Linked DNA regions of Homo sapiens: regions 1, 2 and 4 are each linked to region 3. The links are contacts of gene promoters, found by promoter capture Hi-C in blood cells and fetal thymus (Javierre and others, 2016). All regions are on one chromosome and are shown on one strand. Each heading gives the region's core, a stretch centred on a gene start or on the middle of the fragment in contact. The rest is flanking DNA. Distances are from core to core; before and after follow the strand shown. Region 1 has its middle 3.3 kb from the start of CIPC. Region 2 overlaps NRXN3 (neurexin 3). Region 3 holds the start of SNW1 (SNW domain containing 1). Region 4 overlaps NRXN3 (neurexin 3).

Region 1 (3,017 bases), core at 502-3,001, 670 kb after region 3:
AAATAATATGAAAGAGAATGGGATAAGTACCAGAAGATTGTGAACAAAACCTAATTAATAAAATAAAGGGAGAAAAAAAAACTTTGTTTTTTTTTGGTTGTTGGAGTAGGAAGAGATCAGTAGGTAAATCTTTAAGGATAGCTAAAAGTTGGATTTGCAGTAATGGAAGTGGGTGAGAGTACGACGCACACAAAGCAAAAAAAGAATCAATGAAATAAGCAAAAGCATGAGGTGTGGTCCTATCTTAGTTTTCCGAAGGGGCAAATAAATAAACTATGAGAGGAATGAATTAATGGCATTTGCAGCAACCTGGATGAGATTGGAGACTTATATTCTAAGTGAAGTAACTAAGGAATAGAAACCCAAACATCGTATGTTCTCACTCATAAGTGGGAGTTAAGCTATGAGGATGTAAAGGCATAAGGATGATACAGTGGACTTTGGGGACTCAAGGGGAAAGGGTGGGAAGGGGGTGAGGGATAAAAGACTACAAATTGGGTGCAGTGTATACTGCTCAGGTGATGGGTTCACCAAAATCTCACAAATCACCGCTTAAGAACTTACTCATATAACCAAAATGCCACCTGTTCCCCAAAAACCTATGGAAATAAAAAATTTAAAAAACAGCAGCATGGATACTAGGCTTAATACCTGGGTAACGAAATCATCTGTACAACAAACCGCCATGACACAAGTTTACCTATGTAACGAATCTGCACACGTATCCCTGAACTTAAATAAAAAACAAAACAAAAATAAAATTCAAAAAAAAAAAGAATAAAAGTCTGCCTTCAAATAACTTACAATCTGATATGGGAAATAAGACATGATGTAATAAGCAATATGAAAGAGAATGGGATAACTACCAAAAGATTCTGAACAAAACAATAACATTAAGGGAGAAAAAAAAAACTTTCTTTTTCGGTTGTTGGAGTAGAAAGAGACCAGCAGGTAAAGCTTTAAAGACAGCTTGAAAGTTGGGTTTGCAATAATGGAAGCAGGTGAGGGGATAATGCATACCAAGCAAAAAAGAATCAGTGAAATATGCGAAAGCATGAGGCCCTCTTAGTCCTCCGAAGGGGCAAATAAACCAAACTTCCTTGACTTTACCTACATCTTGAGCAGACAGCCATGCTGTACCAATAACTTAAGCTTCAGACAAGTATTGTAATGGAACCAAATGAATCAAGACTAATGATAGGCATAATTTTTATGATTATTTTATGCTATGATTCTATATAATTAGATATACAGAATAAGCAATTCATGAAGATTGATAGTGAATATTTTTATGTAGCTAAACCACCGTAAACGTTTTTCTTCCTTTCCTATTAATTTACCAAGATTTGTAAATCAGCATCTATTGATAGTTTACTGGTGCCACGAATTCTTTAACCTTCACTCACTTTACTCTCTTTACTCTTGGTTGGAGTAAGGACCCTATGATGGATGGGGTAAGGACCCTGTGATGGATAGTGGGTTCTGAAGCACCTATTCTTCTTGCTGTAGGGTCCTTTCCAATTCAAGTTCTCCCCAGTACCATTGTGGTCTAGGTTCGGTTTCCTACCACCACAACCAGCAGGGGGAGACATGCGCCCTTAAATCCTACATTTAGGGACTTGCGAATGTTTCTTTTTTTTTCCCATCTACTTCTTGAAATTGTAACCTGCCTATCCGTGTGAGGATTTGAGTTTTTAACCCTGCCTAGGATACCATGAAGAGTCAGCCATGGGCCGAGTTTTATTTGAAGATATTTTAAGTGTATTATGTTATACAATTTAAAATATTTATAAACGATTGTTTAATAATTGTTGAATTTAAAATTAAAGTCATTTAAAAATATTTAAAAGTGGGCCAGGCGCAGTGGCTCACACCTGTAATCCCAGCACTTTGGGAGGCCAAGGCGGGCAGATCACTAGGTCAGGAGTTCAAGACCAGCCTGGCCAACGTGGTGAAACCCCGTCTCTACTGAAAATACAAAAATTAGCTGGGCATGGTGGCATGCGCCTTTAATCCCAGCCACTCAGGGGGCTGAGGCAGGAGAATTGCTTGAATCCAGGAGGCGGAGGCTGCAGTGAGCTGAAATTGTGCCACTGCACTCCAGCCTGGGTGACAGAGCGAGACTCCGTCTCAAAAAAAAAAAAAAAAAAAATTTAGAAGTAATTAAAATAGTGTAATAGGAGACGGTGAAAGTCAGTGATCTAGTTTCAAATTCCAGCTCCTATCAATATCATTTTACAAAAGAAGGGTCATTTTGATATCTTTTCCGTATACACAGAAGGGAAGATAGGACATAACCTCACAATTTAAAAATAGAATAATTTCGGGTGTATGAAAAACTTAAAGCTTTTAGTCTTATTTTTCCAGTTTGGCTGAAGACTGGTGAAAACATCACCACAAGGACTGGCAACAGTTCTTGGACTGGTGTTTGGGAACCATTGATTTCATTTTCCTGAACCTCAGTTTGGCCGTCTGTAAAATAGTTATCCTGTAGTTTGAATCTAGCATCTAGCATTATTGGTGCTGATCACTTCATAAGTCTTTAAATAGGATTTGATGGAGTGGTAAGTGTGTCTCATGGGTCAGTGAGAGAAGAGAGGGGCTCCAGCCTGTGTGGGCAGGGGGATCTACAGGTGCCAGATGGCAGAGGCAGAGGCCAGTGATAGTGGGATGTATGACCTTTTTTCCCTTAGCAGTCAGGTAACAAGGCCCTCACCAGCCAGACTGGTTCTTGGCTCATATTTTAGGGAAGTATTTGGCAGAGCAGGTACACTAAAAGGGTAATATTCAGGTTATGGTCAGGCTGTTCATATACAGGTGAAGGTTTTGATTTTAGAGACAGTGTAAACCCTTCCCACATAGCCCTCTGTCTTCTTGCTGATACTTGAAATTCCTTTAAGGAATTGCTTGACACCAAGATACTCTAGAACCCAAGACAAATTCTTCCATAACAACACGTAGTGCTTATTATTTGCCAGATGCTGTCCTAAGTGATTTGCCTACATTTATTCATTTAA
Region 2 (2,754 bases), core at 59-2,558, 850 kb before region 3:
AAATAATAAATTTGGTAGGAATAAATCTCATCTGAAAGCTCTCCATGATAAGGTCACAAGAATAAACACTCTTCCCTCTACACATCTGTATCCTGAGTCTCTAGCACAGCACCAGGCAAATAGCAGGTGCACGATAATAGTATTGACCCAAAGAAGGCACTGTGGGGACTTCCAGACTCATAGCTGGGCCAATGACGAAGGAGAGGACTGAGCCAAAGGAGGTGAGATCACTGTGTCAGGGAAGCGGATCAAAGCCTGGGTTTGCCTAAAGAGACAGTTGTCCTGCCTGAGTTCTTACACCTTGGTCCTTTAGGATTAATAAAGGAGCCAGCTCAAAGGGGGCAGGCCAAAAAGGATCAAATGCTTTCATGGAAGCTCAGCGGGAAAGGATTCCATATATTAGAATTCATCTCTGATTGCTCAAACTACTGATCCTCTTGTAATGAATAAAATATGCCACTGGAATGAATGCTTCATATTAATAAAGACATGATTTGGTCCTCTGAGGTGTAGGGAAAGGAGTATTCTCCCAGGGAGGAGACAGAGCTCTTTCTCTACACCTCTAAAACTTATCAAAGGCTGCTTACAAAAACTTACAATGCCCTCAGCTCCAACAGACAATGGGGCTGTGATCATAGAAATTATGAGCATGCCAGCCAGAATCAGGGAATTCAACCTAGGAGGATGGGGAACAGGAAAACGAAGACTACCTAAAACAATGAAAGCTTAAGGAAAATGTTTCTCTCGCAGTAAATAAATATTTCTCACAATTTCTATTGAGACACTTAGGTTTATACGTTACTTAAAAACAATCATCATACTTTTTTATTCCCCAATAAACGCTTACTCCATTTGTGGAAAAGGTCATGTTTTGGCTTTGCAACAGAGAGTATATGGTGTTTGTCAACAACACGCTGGCAGGTACTAAACCAAACATGCCCCCTGAGTTGACTGTCTCCTGGGAAAGAAAGCCCTGGCTTCATCAGGAACTGGAGCATTAAACTAGCAGCATATTTTAGTCCAAAACATATTTATCGAGCATCTAGGACACTGTGTTAGGTTCCAGAAATATAGATTTCAATAAAACATGGCTTTTCACTTAAGAAGTTCACAGCCTAGCGGGAGAGACCGTAAGTGTTTATTTAAATACAATGTGCTATCAGAGTACAGGGCAGGCAAATTCAGTAAAACTAAGGAAGGGACAAAGATAGGCAGGGAAGGTTTTCTCAGTGATTAAAGAGCTGAGTTAGTCTAGAAGAATGAGTAAGAGTTGGTTAGGGGGAAAGACAGAGAAGAGTTTCCAGGCCAAGGAAATCACATGATCAAAGAAAACTGAAGTTGGTATTTCCTGACTAAAAAAAATGTCAGATGAGGGCATGGCCTTGCCATATGACTACAGAGGAATCATAGGGGAAAGTCATTCAAGAGTCATGCATTGAGCATAGCTTGTATTTTTAGCACAAATCCATTTTTAGATGTTAATGTGTAAATTTCTAGAAAAATGTGGTTATTGCCATAAGGGGAACAGATGTCTTTGATTTTTCTAGTTTAAAGAAATCCAGCTTTTCTTCTAGTCTTGTACCCATGTCCCTTGTCCTGCTTGATCTTTTTTTCCTCTCTCTTCTTAGTCTCCACCTCCTCCTCAAATTCTTGTGCTGCTTGAAATAACCATCATCTATCCTTCTTCACACATTTTGTCATTCTGCTAATCCTAAGGAATTAAAAACATGTATACACACTCGCACACTTATAATCACATGAAGACACCATATGTTGAACTTTGTGATTATTTTATTATTTTAAAAAATCTGACTGCAGCAATCCTCTTTTAAAAAGTGGTTCCAATATTTACATGTAGCAGCTTTGTACACCAATGAAAACTGAAGCTTTTTTAAACATGGTTTACTACTACACCATTTAACACGTATAAAATGTGATTCTTCTTTTTGTTTTATTTTTTTTAAAGAAATCCCAACAAATGTAGATGTTCAAATATAGCACTTCTGGCTTCTGTTTGTAAAGACTGTAAAATGAGTAAAGATTTGATAGAAAAATACCCAGAGATGGCGCCTCCCATATATTTTTATGATCATGTGTAATAAAGTTCCTTGCCCAGTAGCATTTTTATATGACATTAAATTCCAGAATCTCACAGGGTTAGTTTTGATCTGACCTGAATGTCAAATTAGAGGCCAGAGATCCAATATATATTATTCACTTGGATATTTTTCCCTCTGAATTTCTTTTAATATTTCAACGGCATTACTCAAATAGAATTTCTTTCTCCTCCTTTTATAGGGCAGAGTCATTTACTTCCAGCAGAATCTGTGTGTTAAGAGTTCAGTGTTTCCCTTTGAGCTTCCAGGAAGTGCTTTAACTTATACAGTTAGATGTCAAGATACTAATGACTCCTTGTTCTTGAAGAGTGAAAACTGTGACATCAAAGGTGAGTTGTCTCATCAAAATACAGCAGGCTTCCTCTTGAGCCTGAGGGAAGATGATGACTTAAAACTCAAAAGGACCAAAGATGACTCCAGGTCAACTTGTGGGGTGGAGATGAGGAAGTAGTAGGGGAAAAAAAATCGAAATCCTTTGCCTTGTACTAGATCTCTTTAGAATCATGCCTTTAGGAAAATTTCTCTGAGAAAAATCTTTGAATGTGACTCTGGGGAACAGGCTTCTGACAATATATTTTCTAAATTTGATCTTGAATATCCTTTGAGACTGTCTTGAGAATTAGGACTCCGTATTTAG
Region 3 (2,750 bases), core at 131-2,630:
TGGCAGAGTTGATTTTTTTTTTTTTTTTGAGACAGAATTTTACTTTGTCACCCACGCTGGAGTGCAATGGTGCAATCTCGGCTCACTGCAACCTCCACCTCCTGGGTTCAAGCGATTCTTGTACCTCAGCCTCCCAAGTAGCTGAGAAAACAAGAGCACATCACCACACCCAGCTATTCTTTTATATTATTTATTTATTTATTTATTTATTTATTTTTATTTTTTGAGACGCAGTCTCACTCTGTCGCCAGGCTGGAGTGCAGTGGCGTGATCTTGGCTCACTGCAACCTCCGTCTCCTGATTCACACGATTCTCCTGCCTCAGCCTCCCCAGTAGCTAGGACTACAGGAGCGCGCCACAACGCCCAGCTAATTTTTGTATTTTTAGTAGAGACAGGGTTTCACCATGTTGCCCAGGCTTTGTCGAACTCCTGAGCTCAGGCAATCCGCCCGCCCCGACCTCCCAAAGTGCTAGGATTACAAGTGTGAGCTACTGCGCCCGGCCAAGAGTTGATCTTAAAATAGGGAGATTATCCAGGTGCTCCTGATCTAATCACATGAGCCCTTTAAAAGCAGGGCATTTTTCTCCAACAGTGGCAGAAGAGGAGTCAGAAAGATGTGCCTCAGAAAGCAAATATCCATGTTGTGAACTACCAATAAATAGGGCTCATGTGGGAAGGACTCGAGAGTGACCCCTAGGAGCTGAGGGTGGCCACCACTAACAGCACAAAACAAAACAGGGAACTCGATCCCACAACCGCCAGGAACTGATTTTTGCCAACAAGAATGAGTTAGGAGATGGATTTTTCTCCAGAGCCTCCTATGAGATTTCAGCCTTGTCATACCCTGGGCAGAGAACCCAGACACTCGGTAAATTACCAAGGATTACGAAATATCTCCCCAAGAGAGTGTTTTGGCGGGTGAGAGGATATGGTTTAAAGAAAAGTTTTGAGTGTGAATGTTTTCAGAGAGTCCAAGGACTCTCCATTAGCTAGTCTCATTATTACCTGTCGTTTTAAACGCCCTATCACTCTTACTTAAAGTAGCTGTCCCCGGGAAGCTTTTGTATTTTGTACCCCTTCTCGGGGAACGGGACTGAGTAAGGAACGTAATAAAGCGGCCTAAAAGGCATCTCCCTGTATCTTTGATATTTTGCCTAGGGAACGCCCTATCATGTCGCATATAAGCGATCGAGTTATGCATTTGTTGCTAGCTGAAGAGATTATTCCTTGATAACCGCTTGGTCTGGTCAGAATACAAACGGTACTCCTGTTCAAAGAACTACAAATCCCAGAAGGCCTTTTCGGCCAGAGCGCCTGCGCATCGCGCACTCCTTCCTTTCCGCTCCTCATCATCTGGAAAGACCCGCCCAGCGGTGCTGTCGCTCGCGCTGGAAGAAGCGGAAGAAGATGGCGCTCACCAGGTGGGTTGTTGATTGGGGTCCTCGATACGGAAGGGTCTGGGAGTACCAGTCTTCTTCATTTCTCTTCCCATACCCTCCGGGCGGTGACCTGACCCGGGGCACAGAATGACGTGGGCCAAGACTACGGCTACGCCCTCCCGCTGGCCGCCGCTACGACTAGGCCTAGTCGAAGCTGGGGTCTTTCAGCGGTTTCCCGGGTTTAGTTCACCCGCTCACCGAGGCCGAAAGCTGCGGAGTGGTCTCAGACACTGAAGAGTGGGTTTTTCGCGTGAGCATCTTGCGGGGAGCGGACAGCGCTCCCTCAGGTCCGCGGCTCGGGCGAACGAGATGGGGTTGGTGACGGTAGTGGCTTATTTGGGCGGAGTGAAGCGCGCGGGCTGCGACTGCGCGGCTTTCCGGCCGTTTGCCTGTGGTGGTCTCTCTCCTTTCGCTGTCCACTGGGTGTCCCGAAACAAGGATTCCTGAAAAAAGAGGCCCGGAGCTGAACACAGATTTAAATGAGCCACAGTAGTGACCGCCGTCTGCTGATATGCGCCACTGCTCCGCATTTTAACTTTGGAGCTTAGAATTTCTTCCGTAGATAGAACCACCTCAGTTTTGCTGTTTCCGGTTACCTTAGTAACCGTCTGTAAAGTGCTCTCCGCCTTTAAGAAAAAGATGCTTTTCAGTGGGAGAGTCCGAGAAGTTACGCTACTCCTACTAGTTCCCAGCCTTGCTGCCCCATTTTAAGTGGAAAAACTTTCCATGCGAACTCAACAGGAAAAGGCTAGTGTTCAGGAAGGTTATAGATAAAGTAATCCTTTCAGGACATCAGCTTGAGCTCTTTTAACACCCTTCATTCTCCTCACGCATGTTTTTTTTTCTGGCTGATGACAGTATGACTCCAAAAGTTTTAATCAAAAAATTATTTTGGGAATTACTGTTGGTGCCTTGCTCTGTCCTGGGGGTTGTGTACACAGAAGAAAATCTGTCTTTGGCAACAGGGAAGATAGGGGTGCAAGGTATACAGACATAAAACAATTACAGAACACAAAATGTGCATTTGTGTAATACTAACCTTAGTGCAAAAAGAATTGAATGGAATAAGTTATGTGGGCTGGAGAGTTTTCTCCCCACCCTCGTTTCTAAAATTTTTTTGCTTTTTTTTTTAACTTTATTTTTTGAGATGCGGTCTCGCTGTGTTGGCCAGGTTGGTCTTGAATTCTTGGCCTCAAGCAGTCCTCCTGTCTCGGCCTCCGAAAGTGCTAGGATTACAGGCATGAGCCACCATGCCCGGCATCTGAAATTTTTTTAAAAAAAAACTAGAAATAGGGTGTTACTGCGTTGGC
Region 4 (2,751 bases), core at 19-2,518, 800 kb before region 3:
CAGGCTTCTTAGGATCCTTGCTTTCATTTACTCCTTGATCTATCTACTTAATAAATGAATATTAACTGAGCATCTTCAATGTTCAAGGAACTATCTTAGAATCAAAGGGATAGGAAAAACACACAGGGCACAGTTATCCCTATCAGGTGCTTATAATGTAGTTGTATAGACAACATATGGTCATACAAAATAGCATAAGATAGTATATACCAAGTGCCAAATGAGTGCTGCTGCTGCTGAGCACTTTAGAAATTCAGAGAGGGAACGGCACTGAGTGCGCTGAGGAGGTCAGAAAAGGCTCAGTGGAGGACATGGAACATAATCTGATCCCTGAGCAGGAATCAAAAATATGAAGACAAGATCTAGTGGAAGGGTTCTAAATATAGGGGAGAATACTGACTGAGACCCCCACCATATGTCAAGTACTGTGGTAGGCCTGCACAAGGTTTGGGATGATAGGCAAAACCTACCATGGCGGCCGTGAAGACAACAGCCTAGGGAAACAGTAGATAAGGATATAAAGATTAGTAGGAGATGGAGCTGGAAAATGCAGACCAGATCGAAGGACCTTCATTACCAGGCCAAGGACTTGATTCCAAGAAGGAAAGGTACAATACATAAGTTTCTAACCCATATACCTCCTAGAGAGGAGGCCGGGGTGTTCCATCAGGACCTACAATGTCCCATAGGTGAGGAGTAAGCAGTGGTGCCTGGTAAATTTCTAAACAAACAGAGATTCTGGCTTCATGCAAACATTCTCAGGACAAAGGAAGAAACAGGTAATGGGTGAAGTAGGAGCCCAGTCAGAGCCCAGTCCTACCTAGAGATAGTTAAATAGACATTCTGAGGAGCATTTGTGAGCCTCCAGTGAAGAAGATGTGTGAGGTTGCTCTTGACAGAGCCAAACACTATAACCTTCACACTGAGGCGGGAATAGGAGGAGGGGGACAAAAGAGGGCGGAGACAAAAGATGTTCACTTTAAGTCAGCCAGTTATTGGCATCAAAGCCAGAATTCACCTCCTCTCTCCATTATTATTGTGCTTTATTATTATTATAAGGGAGAAATTGCTATTCACTAGGATTTTTTCCCCCTAAGTATTTTAAATGCTGCTGTAACAGTAAATATCACCTCTGGCATATTTGTCCTGGAAGAAAAGAGTATAATTTGGAATACCTAATTGAAATGTGCTACAGGAGATAAGGCAGCTGCAGAGACTGACATTTAAAGGTAGGAGACACCACGGAAGACATGAAATATTACTGTTGCTGCCTCAAAGCCAAAAGCCACTTTCACAGAATGGAAACATCTTCCAGTTCTGCTTCCTCCTTCTGGGTCCCCCATGATCCCATTCCTCAGACTCACTGCTATAGGGTTCCAGTCATCCCTGCTCTTCCTTTAGAACCCCAACCTGCTTGCATTGAGAATGCTGAAGGGCAGGCAAAAGAGAATGATCTCATCCTAGTTCTCTTTTGCTCTTATGTACCCATCTCAAAATCCTAGGTCTTATTTCTTGATAAATCATTTACATGAAGGTGGATGGGCTAGACACAAAAGGAAAGGAAGAGATCTGTCAGTGCATCTCAGTAGGTCTCATTAAAAAGCTGTTTTATGCCACTGTCGCAGAAACATAGTAAAAGACTAGAGGTTACCTGTGCTTAACGCCCAGCAAGCCCTGCCCATTGATAACTGGACACAGTTACTTTCTAGGGGATGGATCTAGGTAAGAGCTAACTCACTGCTTATTCCCTTCACCCATACACCAGAATAAGGACAACTTGCCAACCAACCATCAGACCTACTGCAATTCAGATTAACCACGTTTTTCATCAAACCTATTTCCGTTATCATTTCTCTATCCATCAAGGTAGCTTGTCTCCAAAGATAGCCCCCCAATAAACCATGACTCCTAATATTTCCCTTTGTGTAGTCCCCTAATCGATGAATATTGGAGAGCCCTTTGCCTTGCTTTTGATCAACAAAATATAGCAAAAGTGACAATGAATGACTCCTGAAGCTAGGTCATAAGAAATTTTATTTTTTCTGCCTGGTTTTCTAAGAATAGTTTTTCTTCAGATAGCCCTTCTTGGAACCCAGTTGCCATCCTGTGAGAAGCCTTGGTCACATGGAGAGATCATGCATAGGTTCTCTCTGGCTGAGTTATCTCATCAACTGCCAGCTATTTATGTGAATGAGGTACCTTGGATGTCCCATCTCATCCAGACACCAAATGATTGCAGCCTCAACTGAAGTCACATAAAGTGGAAAAACACTCAACTGATTACAGTTATTTCTTAACTAGAAAAATTACTTAGGATCGTTAAGGCCATATCTTATTTACACTCTTTGTTAGACAAAATGGCTTTCAAGAGTCTTAAGGATTTTCCTCTAGCACAAATTTCTATTATGGTTATCTATCACTTTATATTTTTAAGAAAACTATTCCAAAATATAGTGGCTTAAAACAATGTTATTTCTCATGGTGCTATGAGTTGGCTGGGGTCAATTGAGTGGTTTAATCTTGGAACCTCTCATGTGGTTACAGTCCATTGTAGCCTGGGCAGGATGTGCAAGCTGGTTTCTTCATTCCCATGCCTGGGACCTCCTGGGCCTCTTTCTTGCCTCATGGGTTATCTCTTTCCCCAAGGCCTCTCCACCACACTTGGGCTTCTCACAGTGTGGTCATTTTTTGGTAGTCACATTACTTACATGGCAACTGGCTTCTAAGAGTCAGAAAACAGAAGCTGCCAAG

What was found. The method cuts DNA at HindIII sites, captures the fragments that hold promoters and counts their contacts. A CHiCAGO score of 5 or more calls a contact.
Region 1: a contact is called between a fragment that was not itself captured here and the fragment with the promoter of SNW1 in region 3, in 1 of 17 cell types (neutrophils). The highest score is 5.3, in neutrophils.
Region 2: a contact is called between a fragment that was not itself captured here and the fragment with the promoter of SNW1 in region 3, in 1 of 17 cell types (endothelial precursors). The highest score is 5.8, in endothelial precursors.
Region 4: a contact is called between a fragment that was not itself captured here and the fragment with the promoter of SNW1 in region 3, in 1 of 17 cell types (M2 macrophages). The highest score is 5.1, in M2 macrophages.

What each region holds. Positions count from the first base shown.
Region 1 is chr14:77,093,432-77,096,448 of GRCh38, reverse strand. No RefSeq gene overlaps it. Among named protein-coding and RNA genes, the nearest start is that of CIPC, 3.3 kb to the left of the region's middle. The HindIII fragment of the contact is 1,194 bases long and covers 1,155-2,348 here.
Region 2 is chr14:78,604,924-78,607,677 of GRCh38, reverse strand. All of the region lies in intron 4 of NRXN3 (neurexin 3), which reads right to left. Among named protein-coding and RNA genes, the nearest start is that of NRXN3-AS2, 100 kb to the left of the region's middle. The HindIII fragment of the contact is 1,161 bases long and covers 728-1,888 here.
Region 3 is chr14:77,759,786-77,762,535 of GRCh38, reverse strand. It overlaps SNW1 (SNW domain containing 1), which reads left to right and starts at 1,380. Exons shown (of 14, transcript NM_012245.3): 1 at 1,380-1,422. The coding sequence starts at 1,409. It overlaps SLIRP-OT1 (SLIRP overlapping transcript 1), which reads right to left and starts at 1,768. Exons shown (of 2, transcript NR_161324.1): 1 at 1,420-1,768. RefSeq lists enhancers at 1-641, 1,189-1,508, 1,416-2,190. The HindIII fragment of the contact is 7,128 bases long and covers 1,062-2,750 here.
Region 4 is chr14:78,562,465-78,565,215 of GRCh38, reverse strand. The region is part of intron 4 of NRXN3 (neurexin 3); the gene reads right to left. Among named protein-coding and RNA genes, the nearest start is that of NRXN3-AS2, 150 kb to the left of the region's middle. The HindIII fragment of the contact is 5,632 bases long and covers 1-2,751 here.